Linked DNA regions of Homo sapiens: all the other regions are linked to region 1. Evidence: promoter capture Hi-C in 16 types of primary human blood cells and fetal thymus (Javierre and others, 2016). All regions are on one chromosome and are shown on one strand. The core of a region is centred on a gene start or on the middle of the fragment in contact, and the rest is flanking DNA. Distances in the headings are between cores, read along the strand shown. Region 1 holds the start of PRPF19 (pre-mRNA processing factor 19). Region 2 overlaps TMEM138 (transmembrane protein 138). Region 3 has its middle 3.8 kb from the start of TMEM216. Region 4 overlaps LOC124902678 (a long non-coding RNA gene).

Region 1 (4,210 bases), core at 855-3,354:
CTTCAGATGCCAATCGCAAGCCCCAGGTTGTTTGACCTGTTCTTCTGATCTACCAGCTGTAAATCAGGGTTCCCATGACCTCCTTTTTGGGTTCAATTAATTTGCAACAGTGACTCAAACAATTGTGGGAAACACTTATGTTTACCAGTTTATTGTAAAGGATATTACAAAGGATACAGATGAAGAGGAGCATAGGATGAGGTATGGGAGAAGTACAGAGCTTCCCATGCCTTCCCTGGGCACCCCACCCTCCAGGAACCCCCACATGTTCTGCTATACAGAAGCTCTTTGAATCCTGTCCTTTTGTATTTTTATGAAAACTTCATTACAAAGGCATGATTCAATAAATCACTGGTCACTAGTGACGACTTCAGTTCCTCTCATTTCCCCAGGTAAATGGGGGGTAGGACTGAAAATCCCAACCTTCTAATACCCTTTAGTCTTCCTAGGTGACCAGTCCCCATCCTGAAGCTATTGAGTCTACCAGCTACCAGTCAACTGATTAGCGTACAGACACTTATCACCTGGAAGATTCCAAGGAGCAAAGTGGCAATCGCTACAATAAAAATATTTAAAAATATTTACATGGCACATTTGCATGGCACATTTCTATGTGCCAAGCACAATTCTAGGCATACAGTACAGTAATTCATCTTCACAACAACCCGCAATAGAGGTATCATTTACACTCTTGCCTGCGTAGACTGTGCACCCCTTGAGGATAAGGATTACAGCTGGTCTCTCACTTCCAGTACAATGCAGATGCCCCCAGGGCACTCGGTAAACATCTAACAAATGAGTGAACCATGCCAGGAAGGATGGTGCTGGGGAACGTAAAAGAGAGCTTCCCGAAGATTGGAAGGAAACAATAAATGTGAAGGTACTTTGCGAGCTGTAATTTCTTCAAAGTGAGGGATTCCTTTTCCATCATTTCCCTTCCTTCTTCCCCCTCTTTGGATCAATGTACAGGTTCTGAGAAGAGAAGGAAGTGAATAGCAAAAGGGAGGGGAAACGAGTAATCTGATGAAACAACGAAAAGGGAAAGGAAAATGTCTGTACGTCATGATAAAATATCAAAGGGAAAGATAGTGGAAGGTATGAAAAAAGCATGGATTCAGGGTCCAAGATCCGTGTCACCTAACTACGTCACCCAGCTCTGCCACTGACTAGCTACGCATCCTTAGATAAGCCCCGCTCTTCCTGCGCCTTGCATCCTCATCTGCAAAACCAGGATCTTTATTTCTCCTTTAGGGAATTCTTGTGAGGATAAAATGAGATCATAGACTTGGAAGCGCGTTGTAAACCAATAAGGGCTTATAAATGTGCGCTGTTTTTATTAGTCATACAGTGTAAGGCTGGGAGCCAGATACCTGGCTGCCAGCCTTGCCTCTACCTCTAACTCATCATGTGACCTTTGCAAATTGCAAAAGCTCCGACTATCCGAGCGAGGCCTCGCAAAACATCCACTGCAATGCTCTCGATTTTGCAGATGGGGAAACCGAGGCCCAGAGCCTTGAGCCAATTCATAAAGCCAATGGGAGGCGGACCCTGGACAAGACCTCGAGTTTTCTGACTCCTACATTAAGGCTGCTTCCCTTGCACCAGCTCTCTCTGTCCAGACCTGTTTCCACTCTGTAGAATGAGGCGACCGGCCTCAGTAATGTCTGCGACAATAAACCTCAGGCACTATGTAAACTGCGGGGCACTGCGCAAATGCACCCCGCTCCGACGGGGGGGGCTCCGGTGCTGACAGGCCGCCGCTCGGCCTCCGGAGCGCCCCATTCCCGCCTCCACCCCGGCCCGGGCGCCGCAGCGGACCGCACACGCTCCCGCGCCGCTCTCTGGCCTCCTGAGACCCGCGCTTGGCCGCAGCCAACACTCACTGGAGCAGATTAGGGACATGGCGCCGTCACCGTGCTCCGAGGCGCCACACGCCGGGCTCCGGGACTAGCTTCTGAGCCTCCGCGAGCCACTTCCGGTCCCCCGCTGCTGCCGGGACTGCTCCGCGGCGAGCTGGGAGCCGCCAGCCGAGCGATGCTAGCGTAGCGCTTCACGTGGGAATGGGGACAGCCGCGCGCCACAGCCTTCAGCACCTAACGGAAATTGCCCTTTCCCAGAATGCAGCCGGGCAGGAAAGGGCCCGCCACGAACACTCGGTTATTTCCGGATTGACTCGGCTCGTTCCGTAAAGCGCCGGAGGATTGGCTGGGGCGTCGGGAGAGAGGAGGCTCGAAACTACATTTCCCATGACGCAGTGAGAATTTAAAACCAAAACAATTGGACAGCACTTGTTTTGACAACTGTGCGGCACTGTGCCACGGGACCCTGGTCTTTGAAACCTTGGCGTGCGCGAGAATTTCCCAGTGAGTTTGTTAAAATGCAGATTCCTCGGGTCTGCGTAGACAGACTGTGCCCCACGCTTTTCTAAGTCAGTTGTTTCTCGGGCTACCCTTTAAGAGACACTGCTGGATGGCCTGGTGAAGAAAATACAGAAACAGATGGGTACAAGAACTAAGAAAACGGCTAAGAAAGTGTTTTGGTCCTGACTACTACCATTTCGCTCTGTGATTTGGGGCAATTCACATTGCCCTTTCTTCTTTGTCAAAAGACAAAATCACAACAAACTTAGTTCAAAGATTTTTTTTTTCTTAAGAGACGGACTCTGGCAATGTTGCCCAGGCTGGAAGGCAGTGGCTATTCACAGGTGCGGTCATAGCAATCATGGCTATCACAGGTGCATCCTGGAACTCCTGGCCTCAAGTGATCCTTCTGCCTCAGCCTCCGGAGTAGCTGGGACTTAAGGTGCGATTCTATAGAATTGGGCAGTGCCTCATACTATAAAATATAATGGTTGTTCCAATGAGCTGAACAGGAGAACTTGGTTTTATAGACAGAAAAGGACTGAGGAAAACAGGAACAGAGAACAAAAAGCGGATTGGTCATTTGGTAATTTCAAAATTACTTTTCTTGTAAAGGTTAAAGTGGAGGGGACTTATCATGCCACCTAAAACTTGCCTGTTTGGGAATTTAGCTCCCCCCTACACACACACACACACACACACACACACACACACACATACACACTCAGAAGGTCGTAAAGATCTTCGTTTCAGCTTATTGGCGTGGAGCTTCAGCAGGACTAACTCTTTTTAGCTTGGTCTGTTAGGCCTAGCAGAAGAGCTCAGTCCAAACCAATGGCCTCCTATAAATTTCTTTATTTTGTATTTTGGATTTTGTATTTTCTATTTCTCTTCCAGCTCAGATAGTGTATGATTCTTTGTGGATATCTGTAAGATAAGATACTCTCAGGAATCATGCAAAAGACGTGGTGTGGACTGTAAGGTATCAAGACAAAAGGGCAGGATGAACAGGATGTGAGTGAGAGGGACTTTGACAGGTGGGCAGTATTCAGAGGAGAAGGAGAACGAAAGGCATTCCGGAAGAAGAAACAACGTAAGCAAAAGCTTGGAGAGAAAAATAAAAGTTACAGGTACAAAAGGCAATATGGCATAGTGGCCAAGAGCATGGACTCTGAAGTCAGACTGTGTGCTCAAATCCTAGCACCACTCAGGTGATTGGCAGTATGAACTTCTCTATGCCTTAGTTTCCTCATCTGTAAAACAGAGGGAGTGATGACAAGGGTAGAACTAACTCACTGAACTCTTATGAAGAGTTAATATGCAAAAGGGCATCTCATCTCTGTCTTGCACCAACAAAGTAACTTCCCACTTGTTCCTTGCTTCCAGCCTGGCCTCCTCCTCCTAATCTACTTTCCACAGAGCAGACAGTGATCCACTTTGAACGAAATATCTATTCATGTTATTCCCCAGGCATTTCATTCATCCAACAAATATTGATTGGGTGCTTCCTATGTGCCAAGCCCTATTGTAAAAACTGGAGATAGAAAAGGTCAACAAGAAAGACACAGTTTCTGCTGTCTTGGAGCTTACACTCTACTGTGGGTGGTGGGAGCACAGAGACAATCAACACTTAAGAAGAAAATTCCAGAGTAGTAAGTGCTATGAATACAACAAATCAGAGCAAGGTAGACAGAGGTGCTGGGGATTGGAGGAACGGCTACTTGAGGCAGGGCACTTAGAGAGTGCATCACTGAGGAGCTGATTTTTTTGCTGAGAACTGAATGAGGGTATGGAGCAAAAAAGTTTCCCCTCTGCCCTCTAAAGATTTGCTGAAATTAACTGACAATCGA
Region 2 (2,500 bases), core at 1-2,500, 460 kb after region 1:
TGTAATCCCAGCTTCTTGGGAGGCTGAGGCAGGAGAATCACTTGAACCTGGGAGGCAGAGGTTGCAGTGAGCCATGATCATGCCACTGCACTCCAGCCTGGGCGACAGAACAAGACTCCATCTCAAAAAAAAAAAAATGTTTAAGAGTGTCAGATAGCCTGGGCAACATAGTGAGACCTTGTTTCTATTAAAACATAATTTTATTTTTTTTTTTTTGAGATGGAGTCTAGCTGTGTCGCCAGGCTGGAGTACAGTGGCACAATCTCAGCTCACTGCAACCTCCGCCCCCTGGGTTCAAGCAATTCTCCTGCCTCAGCCTCCCTAGTAGCTGGGATTATAGGTGTGCGCTACCACACCCCACTATGTATTTACCACACCCAGCTACTTTTTGTATTTTTAGTAGAGACGGGGTTTTGCCATGTTGGCCAGGCTGGTCTCAAACTCTTGACCTCAAGTGATCTGCCCACCTCGGCCTCCCAAAGTGCTGGGATTACAGGCATGAGCTAATTTTTTTTTTAATTAGCTGAGTATAGTGGCACACACCTGTGGTCACAGCTACTCAGGAGGGTGAGGCGGGAGGATCACTTGAGCCCAGGAAGTTGCTGCAGTGAGCTGTGATCATACCACTGCACTCCAGTCTGGGCAACAGAATGAAACCCTGTCTCGAAAAATAAGGAGTATCAGAGAATCTTCTATAGGACTATGTATGGAAGAAATTTTAAAAATAAAAAAGAGTATTAGAGCAGGAAAGCCTTGACTATGGACTGCAAACCCAACTGATGGGGCCAGTGGGTAATTTTAGGTAATTTTAGCTTCATGTCATTCAGGTCCCAAAACCCATGTTATCTCTGTGAGGGTTTAAGATGTCAGATGCCTATCTCACAACAAAGGACAGGCCTCGTGGTGTCCCTCAGGACATAGTACCTGCTCTTGGGTCCTCACACAGGCCTTCATTGGTTGTACTTTTTTTTATGTCTACAGCATCCAGGATATTGCAGTCCTCTTCAACATCATCATCATTTTCCTCATGTTCTTCAACACCTTCGTCTTCCAGGCTGGCCTGGTCAACCTCCTATTCCATAAGTTCAAAGGGACCATCATCCTGACAGCTGTGTACTTTGCCCTCAGCATCTCCCTTCATGTCTGGGTCATGGTAAGAGTGGCAGTCTGAATTCTTTTTTTAATTTTTATTTTAAATAGAGGTGGGGTCTTACTTTGTTACCAAGGCTGGTCTCAAACTCCTGAGCTCAAGCAATTCTCCTGCTTCTGCCTCCCAAGCTCAAGCAATTCTCCTGCTTCTGCCTCCCAAAGTGCTGGAATTACAGGCATGAGTCACTGTGCCCGGCCTGAACTCTGAATTCCTGAATCGCTAAAGGGCTAGGAATAACTTTTCTTTTCTTTTCTTTTCTTTTTTTTTTTTTTTGAGACAGAGTCTCGCTCTGTCGCCTGGCTGGAGTGCAGTGGCGTGATCTCAGCTCACTGCAACCTCCGCTTCCTGGGTTCAAGCAATTCTCCTCCCTCAGTCTCCTGAGTACCTGGGATTACAGGCACGCACCACCACGCCCAGCTAATTTTTGTGTTTTTAGTAGAGACTGGGTTTCACCATGTTGGCCGGGATGGTCTCAATCTCTTGACCTCGTGATCCTCCTGCCTCGGCCTCTGAAGTGCTAGGATTACAGGCGTGAGCTACTGCGCCCGGCCACTGGGATATCTTTTCTCTGGGAACCCAGCTTCATTCTTTGACATCTCACACAATCCTTCGTAGAGAACAGGTGAAATGAAAGTGGTTTGGGTTGGAGCCCTGGGCATGTGAGAGTTTCATAAGGTACTCTTGACCAACCTTATGTGTTGAAAAACAGCCTTGTCCAAGAGTCAGGGGACTCTTCCAGAACATTCAATTCACCTTTGCCCCAAACAGGCCTACCAGGGCTAAAACAGGTAGTTGAATGTGTCTCATCATTAGCTATTTGGGCAGGTGGATGTTGATACAGGTTATTCTTAGGCATCAGTGCCCCATGGCTAATGCTGTAGGCAGTGGATGTTTTTGGAAGTAGCCAAGCAGGATTGCTGCTTGCCCTTGAGTGCTCCATGCCGTCTGCCAAGCTCCCATCACTTTAACTAGGAGAACCGGCCTCCAGGATCCCTCCCTTTGGTTCTAACATAGGCCTCAGATCAGATCCAGTGTCTGTGGTTTCAGATTTCTTCTGCTTCACAAATTCTTCCAGCTCTTTGAGTATCTTGTATATTTCTCATGTACTCAATTCAATTGAACTCTAAAACCTCAGGGTTCTCTAGTTGTCACTTCATTATTAAAGCCACTTTCACACCTGAACCCCCTGTTAGGTTGTGCTTGTGATTCCACAGAAAGAAGTAGAGGTCCCAGGAAAGAAGCAAAGCAACACCAGAGTCTCCGGGTGCTTCCTGAAGAGGATTCTGTGCCCTGGTTCCTGGAGCCAAAATAGGTCCTGGCTTTGTACTATAAAAGCCGTTAATCTCATTA
Region 3 (4,336 bases), core at 650-3,149, 480 kb after region 1:
AGACTCTGTCTCAAAAAACAAAAACAAAAACAAAACAAAACAAAACAAAAAACCTAAAGAAAGTAAGAAGAAGGAAATTATAAAGAGCAGAAATTTGTAAAATAGAAAACAAATTTTATACGATGAAGAAAAAGAAAGTCGAAAGCTGTTTTTAAAAAAATTAATAAGGCTGGGCACGGTGGCTCACACCTGCAATCCTAGCACTTTGGGAGGCCGAGGCGAGTGGATCATGAGGTCAGGAGTTCGAGACCAGCCTGGCCAACATGGTGAAACCCCATCTCTACTAAAAATACAAAAATTAGCCGGGCGCAGTGGTGGGCGCCTGTAATCCTAGCTACTCGGGAGGCTGAAGCAGGAGAACTGCTTGAACCCAGGAGGCGGAGGCTGCAGTGAGCCGAGATCACACCACTGCACTCTAGCCTGGGTGACAGAGCAAGACTCTGTCTCAAAAAAATAAAATAATAATAATAATAATAATAAGAAACCAGGCATGGTGGCTGATGCTTGTAATCCTAGCACTTTGGGAGGTCGAGGCAGGTGGACTGCCTGAGCTCACCAGTTCGAGACCAGCCTGGGCAACATGACAAAACCCTGTCTCTACTAAAAATACAAAAAAAAAAAGCCGGGAGCAGTGGCTCACACCTGTAATCCCAGCACTTTGGGAGGCTGAGGCGGGCAGATCATGAGGTCAGGAGATCGAGACCATCCTGGCTAACACGGTGAAACCCCGTCTCTACTAAAAATGCAAAAAAAATTAGCTGGGCATGGTGGCGGGTGCCTGTAGTCGGCTACTCGGGAGGCTGAGGCAGGAGAAGGGCGTGAACCTGGGAGGCGGAGCTTGCAGCCAGCCGAGATCGCACCACTTCACTCCAGCCTGGGCGACAGAGCAAGACTCCGTCTCAAAAAAAAAAAAAAAAAAATTAGCCAGGTGTGGTGGTGCATGCCTGTAGTCCCAGCTACTTAGGAGGCTGAGGCACGAGAATTGCTTGAGCCTGGGAGGCAGAGGTTGCAGTGAGCCAAGATCGTGCCACTGCACTGCAGCCTGGGCGATAGAGTGAGACCCTGTCTCATAAAAAAAAATAAAAAACAAAAATAAAACGTTAATAAAATTGATAAACACCTATCAAAACTATTGAAGAAAAAAATATGAAAGAAAAGGGACATCACTGCAGTTCTTACATCCATTAAGTAATATTTAAGGATTGCCTGGTGACTTTTTTAATTTTTAAAAATTAATTAGTTATTATTATTCTTTAGACAGAGTCTCGCTCTGTTGCCAGGCTGGAGTGCAGTGGCATGATCTTGGCTCACTGCAACCTCCACCTCCTGGGTTCTAGCGATTCTCCTGCCTCAGCCTCCCAAATAGCTGGGACTACAGGCATGCACCACCACACCTGGCTAATTTTTTTGTATTTTTAGCACAAATGGGGTTTCACCATGTTGGCCAAGCTGTCTTGAACTCCTGACCTCAAGTGATCCGCCTGCCTTGGCCTCCCAAAGTGCTGGGATTACAGGTATGAGCCACTGCGCCCAGCCTGACTACTGACTTATAATACAGAAAAAAAAAGAATTGAGGAATGTTATGAAAACCTTCACACCAATACATCTGGAAATGTATACAAAATGATTTACCCAAACCTTATTCAAGGTTTATGCAAACACAAATTCACCCAAACCTTACTCGAGAAGTAGAATATCTGAATGTTCTTATATATAGTACAGGGATTTCATTATTTTAAACTCCCCCCCACCAAAAAAAAAATTTAGGTTTAGATGGCTTCATCAGTGTATTCTTTCAAATACTTGAAGAAGAAATATTACCTAGCTTACACTATCTCTTCCGGAGAATAGAAAAAGAAGAAATACCTTTCGCTTTATTGGATGAAGCCACCTTAACCTTAATACCCACCCTTGACAAGGTCCTTGACAAAGTTAAATTACAGACCAATCTCTCTCATGATACATATGTAAAACCTGAACAAAATTAGCAAATGAAATCCAGTGACATATAAAAAGGATAACATATCTGTGTCAGGGGTCTCCAAGATCACACCCAGTTTGGATGATTTGCTATAAGGACTTATGGGACCCAGCATACAGGTGTATTCATGCCTCTGATCTATTACAGTGAAATACAAAGCAAGGTCAACAAAGGGAAAAGATACATGAGGCACAGTCAAGGAGAAACTAGCAGCATGCTTCCAAGAGGTCTATCTCAGGGGGAATCACACAAGACGTTCATCATTCCTCCAGCAACAAATTCTGATAACATATGTGCAATGTTGTCTACTAGGAAAGCTCACTTGAGACTCAGGGTCCAAGTTTTATTTTTTTTATTTTTATTTTTTTAAACAGTTATGGTTCACTGCAGCCTCTTCCCTCTACCTCTTGGGCTCAAGCAATCTTCCTGCCTCAGCCTCCGAAGTAACTGGGACTACAGGTGTGCACCACCATGCCTGGCTAAATTTTTTTGTTTGGGTAGAGACAGGGTCTCACTGTGTTGTCCAGGCTGGTCTTGAACTCCTGAGCTCTATTGATCCTCCTGCCTCAGCTTCCCAAAGTGCTGGGATTACAGGCATGAGCCACTGGACCCAGCCCCCAAGGTTTTTACTGGGAGCTGATCATGAAGGCACCCTCTGCCTAACATGTTTCAAAACTCCAGACTCTGAGAAGGAGAACAGGTATTTAGCATAAGCCACATTGTTTGTACAGTTTAGGCACTGTGAGCCACTTTAAACTGGTGGGAACACTACCAAAAGCCAAGTTCCCTTACGCCAGGCAAGGGTCAACCTTGCAGTTGGGCCTCTCCAAAGACAGCAGCCTCAGGTCTGCTATGTTAAGTTTTTTCTGTACAGTCTCATAAGCAAATGGGTTTTTTATTTTTTCCAGGAAGACATGGTTGGTCATACCTCTGAAAATCAATGTAATTCATATTAGCAGAATAAAGGAGAAAAATCATATAGTCCTCTCAACGGATTAAGAGAACACACTTAATAAAATATATCATAAGCCTTTTAGCAAACTAGGATAATAAGGGACTTTCTTAATCTGATAAAGAGTATCTACAAAAAAAATCTATAGCCACCATATTAATGGTGAGATATTGAACGCTTCCCCTGAGGTTAGGAACAAGACAAGACTATCCATCATCACCACTTATAGTCAACATTACACTGCCAGTCCTGGCCAGTGCAATAAGGCAAGAAAAAGAAATTGAAGGTATAGAGATTGAGAAGGAAGTAAAAATGTCTTTATTTACTGATGATGTGATCATGTACATAACAAGCCTCCTAGAAATAATCAATTTAGCAAGGGCACTGGCTGTTGGGACAGTCTTGCATGGGTCCTAAGCATCCCTGCATGTTCTTACTATGTCAAACCAGAAAGTCTGTCTCCTGATACTGAGCACAGAAGCAATTAAGTAGACCAAAGTGACTATAGTGTGATGATAGTATAATTTCTCCCTCCCCAGTGGAAAGGGCCTGGCTTTATTTGCTGCTTGCTAAAAAGGGTACTGAGCCTTTGGCTCTGGGCTCCACCAAGCTGTGGCATAACTCCTTGAGTGCAGCACCATCTGGGGTCATTGTGTCACTCATAGGACTTGGGAGCAGGGGGCCCCCAGGTTGCCATGCTGATGTTCCTGCTGTTTGCCATAAGTAATTTGGCCTCACTGTCAGCTTTTGGCATCTATGAAGTTGTGGCATACTCTGACATAGATTAGCCAACTTTTTCTTAAAGGGTCAGATGGTATTTAAGGCTGTGGGCCATGTGGTCTCTGTTGCAACTACTTAACATTGCCATAATAGCATGAAAGCTGCAATATATAATAACATGTAAGTAAGTGACCATGATGACGTTCTCCAAAGAACTTTTATTTACAAAAACAAGCAGCTGGCCCACTTTCTTTGTTTTTCTTTTGAGACATAGTTTCACTCTTGTTGCCCAGGCTGGAGTGCAATGGCTTGGTCTCAGCTCACTGCAACCTCCGCCTCCCAGGTTCAAGCGATTCTTATGCCTCAGCCCCCCAAGTAGCTGGGATTAGAGGCATGTGCCATCATGCCCGGCTAATTTTGTATTTTTAGTAGAGATGGGGTTTCACCATGTTGGTCAGGCTGGTCTTGAATTCCTGACCTCAAGTGATCCACCCGCCTCAGCCTCCCAAAGTGCTGGGATTACAGGTGTGAGCCACCGCGCCAGGTGCAGCTGGCCCACTTTCTTTCCATATCAGGCTCAGAGCAGGAACTTTTCTAATGTCTCTTGTCTTGCAGGCAGCGAAGATGGGGAAGCAGGATCTGGATTCCTTTCCACCTTAACCTCTGTGCTCTGCGCTTTCCTA
Region 4 (4,752 bases), core at 1,247-3,746, 290 kb after region 1:
ACCCCGTCTCTACTAAAAATACAAAAATTAGCTGCTTGAACCTGGGAGGTGGAGGTTGCAGTGAGCCGAGATCACTCCATTGCACTCCAGCCTGGGCGACAATAGTGAAACTCCATCTCTATAAATGAATAAATAAATAAATAAATAAAAATTAAAAAATTAGCCGGGCGTGGTGGTGTGCACCTGTAATCCTAGCGACTGGGGTCGCTGAGGCATGAGAATTGCTTGAACTGGGGAGGCAGAGGTTGCAGTGAGCCAAGATTGCGCCATTACACTCCAGCCTGGGCAACAGAGCAAGACTCAGTCTCAAAAAATAATAATAATAAAGAAAGAATACATCAAACAAACCCTAGTTGAGGGACATTCTGCAAAACAACTGGCCTATACTCTTCAAAAGTGTCAACGTGATGAATGAAAAAGGCAGAGGGAGGGACTGTTCAAGATCAAAGGACACCTGGGAGACCTGGAACCCAAAAGAATGTGCGATCCTGGATTGAGTTGTGGAACAGAAAATTAAAAATCACAAAAAAGGACAATTTTAGGACAACTGGTGAAATCTGAATATGTGCTGTGTATTAGATAATAGTATCGTATCAATGTAAGACTTACTGCCTGTGGTCATTTTGACATCATCCACGTAAGCAAATGTCCTTAGAAACACACACTAAAGATTTAGGAGCAAAGGATCATGATGTCTGCAATTGACTCAAATCATTCAGCCAAAATAATAATAATATGCATGTATGCATGTGTATGGAGAGAGAGACAAAGAGAATAAATTCAGTAAAATGTCAATACGTGAATCTAAAAGCAATTATAATAATAATAATGAATCTGAGTGAAATATATATGGGAATTTGTGGGAGGTGTTTGTTTGTTTGTTTGTTTGTTTGTTTGTTTTGGAGAGGGAGTTTCGCTCAGTCACCCAGGCTGGAGTGCAGTGGTGCCATCTTGGCTCACTGCCACGTCCACCTCCCAGGTTCAAGCCATTCTCCCACCTCAGCCTCCCTAGTAGCTGGGATCACAAGCATGCACCACCACGCCCGGCTAATTTTTTTGTATTTTTAGTAGAGATGGGGTTTTGCCATGTTGGCCAGGCTGGTCTCTAACTCCTGACCTCAGGTGATCTGCCCTCCTCAGCCTCCCAAATATATGGGAATTTGTTGCACTATTCTGGCACTTTTTCTGTAGATTTAAAATATTTTCTTTTGTTGTTGTTGAAACAGGGTTTCACTCGGGTCGCCCAGGCTGGAGTGCAGTGACACAGTTATGGCTCACTGCAGTCTCAACCTTCTGGGCTCAGGTGATTCTCCACCTCAGCCTTCTGAGTAGCTGGGACTACAGGCGTGTGCCACCATGCCTGGCTAATTTTTTCTATTTTTAGTAGAAACAGAGTTTCACCATGTTGGCCAGGCTGGTCTCGAACTCCTGGACTGAAGCAATCCACCCACCTTGGCCTCCCAAAGTGCTGGGATTACAGGATGAGCCTCCGTGCCCGGCTCTCCTTGCCATTTTTACATACTGATATCTCTGGGCTCTGTGCCAGACTGGGGTGGGTGCCAGAGGAAAAGGATAAGACCCCGCCCCTCCCCTTGAGCACAGGGTCGACTGCAGGTGGTCACGCACCATCTGCTGGGTGCTGGGGGGCAAGGCGGCAGCAGGACATGGGAGGAAGGTACGGGGGAGCAGGGTCTGAAGGAGAGCATTAGCAAGGGCCCTCCCCCTCCTCCTCTCTCCTGCCTTCCACCGGGATCTGCCTTGCTCCGAGGCGGAGAGACTGACCCCCAGGCTCCAGTACCCTCCACCTTCAGCCCCAGCTCGAGCTGGGTCCTGGCAGTGCTAGTCCCTCCCTGCGCTCCTTTTGATTTTCCACTGCTGCTGGCTCCCGGTGCCTCCTCATCGCTTTTGGGGTCCTTTACCCTTGCCCACCCCCTCACTAAATCTCTTCAAACCTCTAGGTGGGCCACCTGTTTCCACAAGGATTCTGACACTCTAGGTAATGACAGAGAAACGCTTTCAAAGGGAACAGCTTGTGCCAAGGCTCAGAGGCAGGGGAGGATGTAGCCCAGTGGGAGAATTCAGACCGCCCAGGGCAGGAGGGCAGGAAGGCAAGCTGTTCCAGCCCAGGTCACAGCTCTCAGCATTGAAACTGGGAACTGTGACACCTCCCACCTGAGCCCCACATCCCCCACCCCCGGAGGACGCATTGGCCGGGGCCTGCCTACAGCTTTACCTGAGCCCATCCCGGAGCGTGGACTGGGACACAGGAGCAGGCTCCAGGCTCCACCGTGGATTACACAGGCACACCCCTTGCTGAGGTCGAAAACAGGAGGCTTGTGTTCCTCCTCCACAGTGGCGTGGTTTTGGAGCCTCCAGCCAGGCCCAGAAGCCTCCTCTACCTTTCCTTTTTTTTTTTTTTTTCTTTCTTTCTTTTTTTTTTTTTTTTTAGATAAAGTCTCGCTCTGTTGCCCAGGCTGGAGTGCAATGCTGCAATCTCAGCTCACTGCAACCTCTGCCTTCCGAGTTCAAGCGATTCTCCTGCCTCAGCCCTCTGAGTAGCTGGGATTACAGGCACGCGCCACCATGCCTGGATAATTTTTGTATTTTTAGTAGAGACGGGGTTTTACCATGTTGGTCAGGCTGGTCTTGAACTCCTGACCTCATGATCCGCCCGCCTCGGCCTCCCAAAGTGCTGGGATCACACGCATGAGCCACCATGCCCAGCCCTCCTCTCTACCTTTTCTAGCAATGAAAACTTCATACCTGACAGTCAGCCTGGATGCTTAATGCTCAACCATTCACTCAACATCTACACTGCCCCAGGTCCAGATCTTTGTAAAAATGAGATGCTCCCCTAGGAAGGAGGAACACACTCCTGGACTGATTTCAGCCTCCAGATACTAAGACAGTTTAAATGCCTCCTCCTCCACGATGGCCTCCCATATGTCCCTTGGAAGTAAGCTCCTTTTCTTGAATGACTAGCACTCTGTCCCTTTTATACCCTTCTTAGTGTCTGCCCTAGTTAATAATTTCTACTGTTTTCTGCTTTTTATTACAGTGACTGAGGTATGGGTCTTACTTCTCTCACTCAGATGTAAACCCACTGAGGACAAAACTCATGGCTGATTCATCTCTATCAAGCCTACTGCCTGGCATGTGGAATGTATGAATGAGTGAATGAACGAGAAGATGAACAAGGCAAAGCGCTCATAAGCATGGCCAGTTTGGCCAGGGAGTAGGCTGTAAGAAGACGTCAGAGCCTTCTGCTTGAATCTGCTGCCTTGCCGCCCACCCCAGGCTAAGGCACGAAGACCCTCAAAGCTGCTGCTGCAGGTCCTTTGGAGGAGCAGGCAGCTGGGCTCCCTGGCTCTCCCATCTGGAGCAGGAGGCCCAGGACAGGTGCTTTAAATACCCTCTGGCCACACCCCCAGCCTACTGCCCCTGGCACCAATGGTGGCAGAGTCACAGGTCAGAAACCAGGATTCAGGTCACCCCTTAGAAGGAACAGGGCGTAGATGGGGACAGATTGGATCAGAAAAGGCTGAGGAGGCCAGGTCCAGAGCTGTGCACACCTGGGAGTAACGTGGTATTTGAGATACCGAGGACAAAAGAGCTGCGGCTGTCGGGGGCAGGACGCACTATCAGGGGACCTTAACCTCTGTCCCCAAGAGGGGTTCACACCCCAGGCCACCAGTTTCAGTGGGTTTACACTGGGGCTCTGGGCAGGCGCAGCTCAAGGCAGGTGCTCTGAGGGAGAGCAGGGCTGTGAGGGGCTGGGGAGGCTGGCCCAGAATCTCCCCATGCCCGCCTGGAGACTGCAGGCCAACTTCCTGGTCATGCCCCAGTTCCCAGGAATTTTCCAGCTCCTGCTTAATAGCTCCATCCTCCCTCCATCTGCCCCCAGCCCACTCCCAGTTTCCAAACATTTTCTTTTTTGCTTCCAGTTAACCCTTGCTCTGCCCAGTACCGAATTTCTGTCACTGCCTCCTCCAAGACCTTCTCTTGTATTTTGCCCAAAGCAGGTGTCAGAACCCTTTCTGGGGGCCGAGCAGCTTGGTGTTGGGAGGCTGTGGTTGAGATTCCCGGCTCTCTTACTCCCTTCCCAGGGCTTGGGCAAATTCTTGCCCCCAGTGCCTCCTCTCTGCTTCCTGACTCTCCCTTGAGAGCTTGGACCATAGACCCCAGCACCCTTCCTGCTCAAGGACACACTCCACTCTGAGTATACACCCAACAGAAACACATACATATGTTCTCTAAAAGATGTGTATTAGAAGCCGGGCACAGTGGCTCACGCCTGTAATCCCAGGACCTTGGGAGGCCAAGGCAGGTGGATCACTTGAGCCCAGGAGTTTGAGACCAGCCTGGGCAACACAGGGAGACCCCGTCTACACAAAAATAAAAAAAATTAGCCAGGCATGGTGGCACACACCTGTGGTACCAGCTACTTGAGAGGCTGAGGTGGGAGGATTGCTTGAGTCTGGGAGGTCAAGGCTGTGGTGAGCCATAATTGTGCTTCTACACTCTAGCCTGGGTGACAGAGCAAGACCCTGTCTCAAAAAAAAAAAAAAAAAAAGAATGTGTATTAGAATGACTGTAACTAGCAATAGTAAGTTCTATAGTTTGAAATATCTGGAGGGAGGATATTGAATGCTCCCAAAACAAAGGAATGATAAGGCCAGGCGAGGTGGCTCACACTTGTAATCCCAGCACTTTGGGAGGCCGAGGCGGGTGGATCACCTAGGAACAGTTCAG

What was found. Contacts are between HindIII fragments. The CHiCAGO score rates a contact against its expected background, and 5 or more counts as called.
Region 2: a contact is called between a fragment that was not itself captured here and the fragment with the promoter of PRPF19 in region 1, in 1 of 17 cell types (naive CD4 T cells). The highest score is 6.4, in naive CD4 T cells.
Region 3: a fragment that was not itself captured here is called in contact with the fragment with the promoter of PRPF19 in region 1 in 3 of 17 cell types (naive CD4 T cells, non-activated CD4 T cells and fetal thymus); the score reaches 8.3 in naive CD4 T cells.
Region 4: a fragment that was not itself captured here is called in contact with the fragment with the promoter of PRPF19 in region 1 in 1 of 17 cell types (non-activated CD4 T cells); the score reaches 5.2 in non-activated CD4 T cells.

The regions. Positions count from the first base shown.
Region 1 is chr11:60,904,481-60,908,690 of GRCh38, forward strand. PRPF19 (pre-mRNA processing factor 19) reads right to left here and starts at 2,105. Exons shown (of 16, transcript NM_014502.5): 1 at 1,884-2,105. The coding sequence starts at 1,902. PRPF19-DT (PRPF19 divergent transcript) reads left to right here and starts at 2,299. Exons shown (of 2, transcript NR_186697.1): 1 at 2,299-2,363. RefSeq lists a silencer at 1,698-1,797 and enhancers at 1,737-2,324, 2,438-2,557. The HindIII fragment of the contact is 4,469 bases long and covers 1-3,462 here.
Region 2 is chr11:61,365,064-61,367,563 of GRCh38, forward strand. It overlaps TMEM138 (transmembrane protein 138), which reads left to right. Exons shown (of 5, transcript NM_016464.5): 3 at 982-1,153. Among named protein-coding and RNA genes, the nearest start is that of TMEM138, 3.9 kb to the left of the region's middle. The HindIII fragment of the contact is 5,415 bases long and covers 1-2,500 here.
Region 3 is chr11:61,386,579-61,390,914 of GRCh38, forward strand. No RefSeq gene overlaps it. Among named protein-coding and RNA genes, the nearest start is that of TMEM216, 3.8 kb to the right of the region's middle. The HindIII fragment of the contact is 5,428 bases long and covers 1-4,336 here.
Region 4 is chr11:61,192,133-61,196,884 of GRCh38, forward strand. LOC124902678 (a long non-coding RNA gene) reads left to right here. Exons shown (of 4, transcript XR_007062691.1): 3 at 3,059-3,399. Among named protein-coding and RNA genes, the nearest start is that of PGA3, 9.0 kb to the right of the region's middle. RefSeq lists enhancers at 1,367-1,868, 1,869-2,368. The HindIII fragment of the contact is 5,628 bases long and covers 1-4,752 here.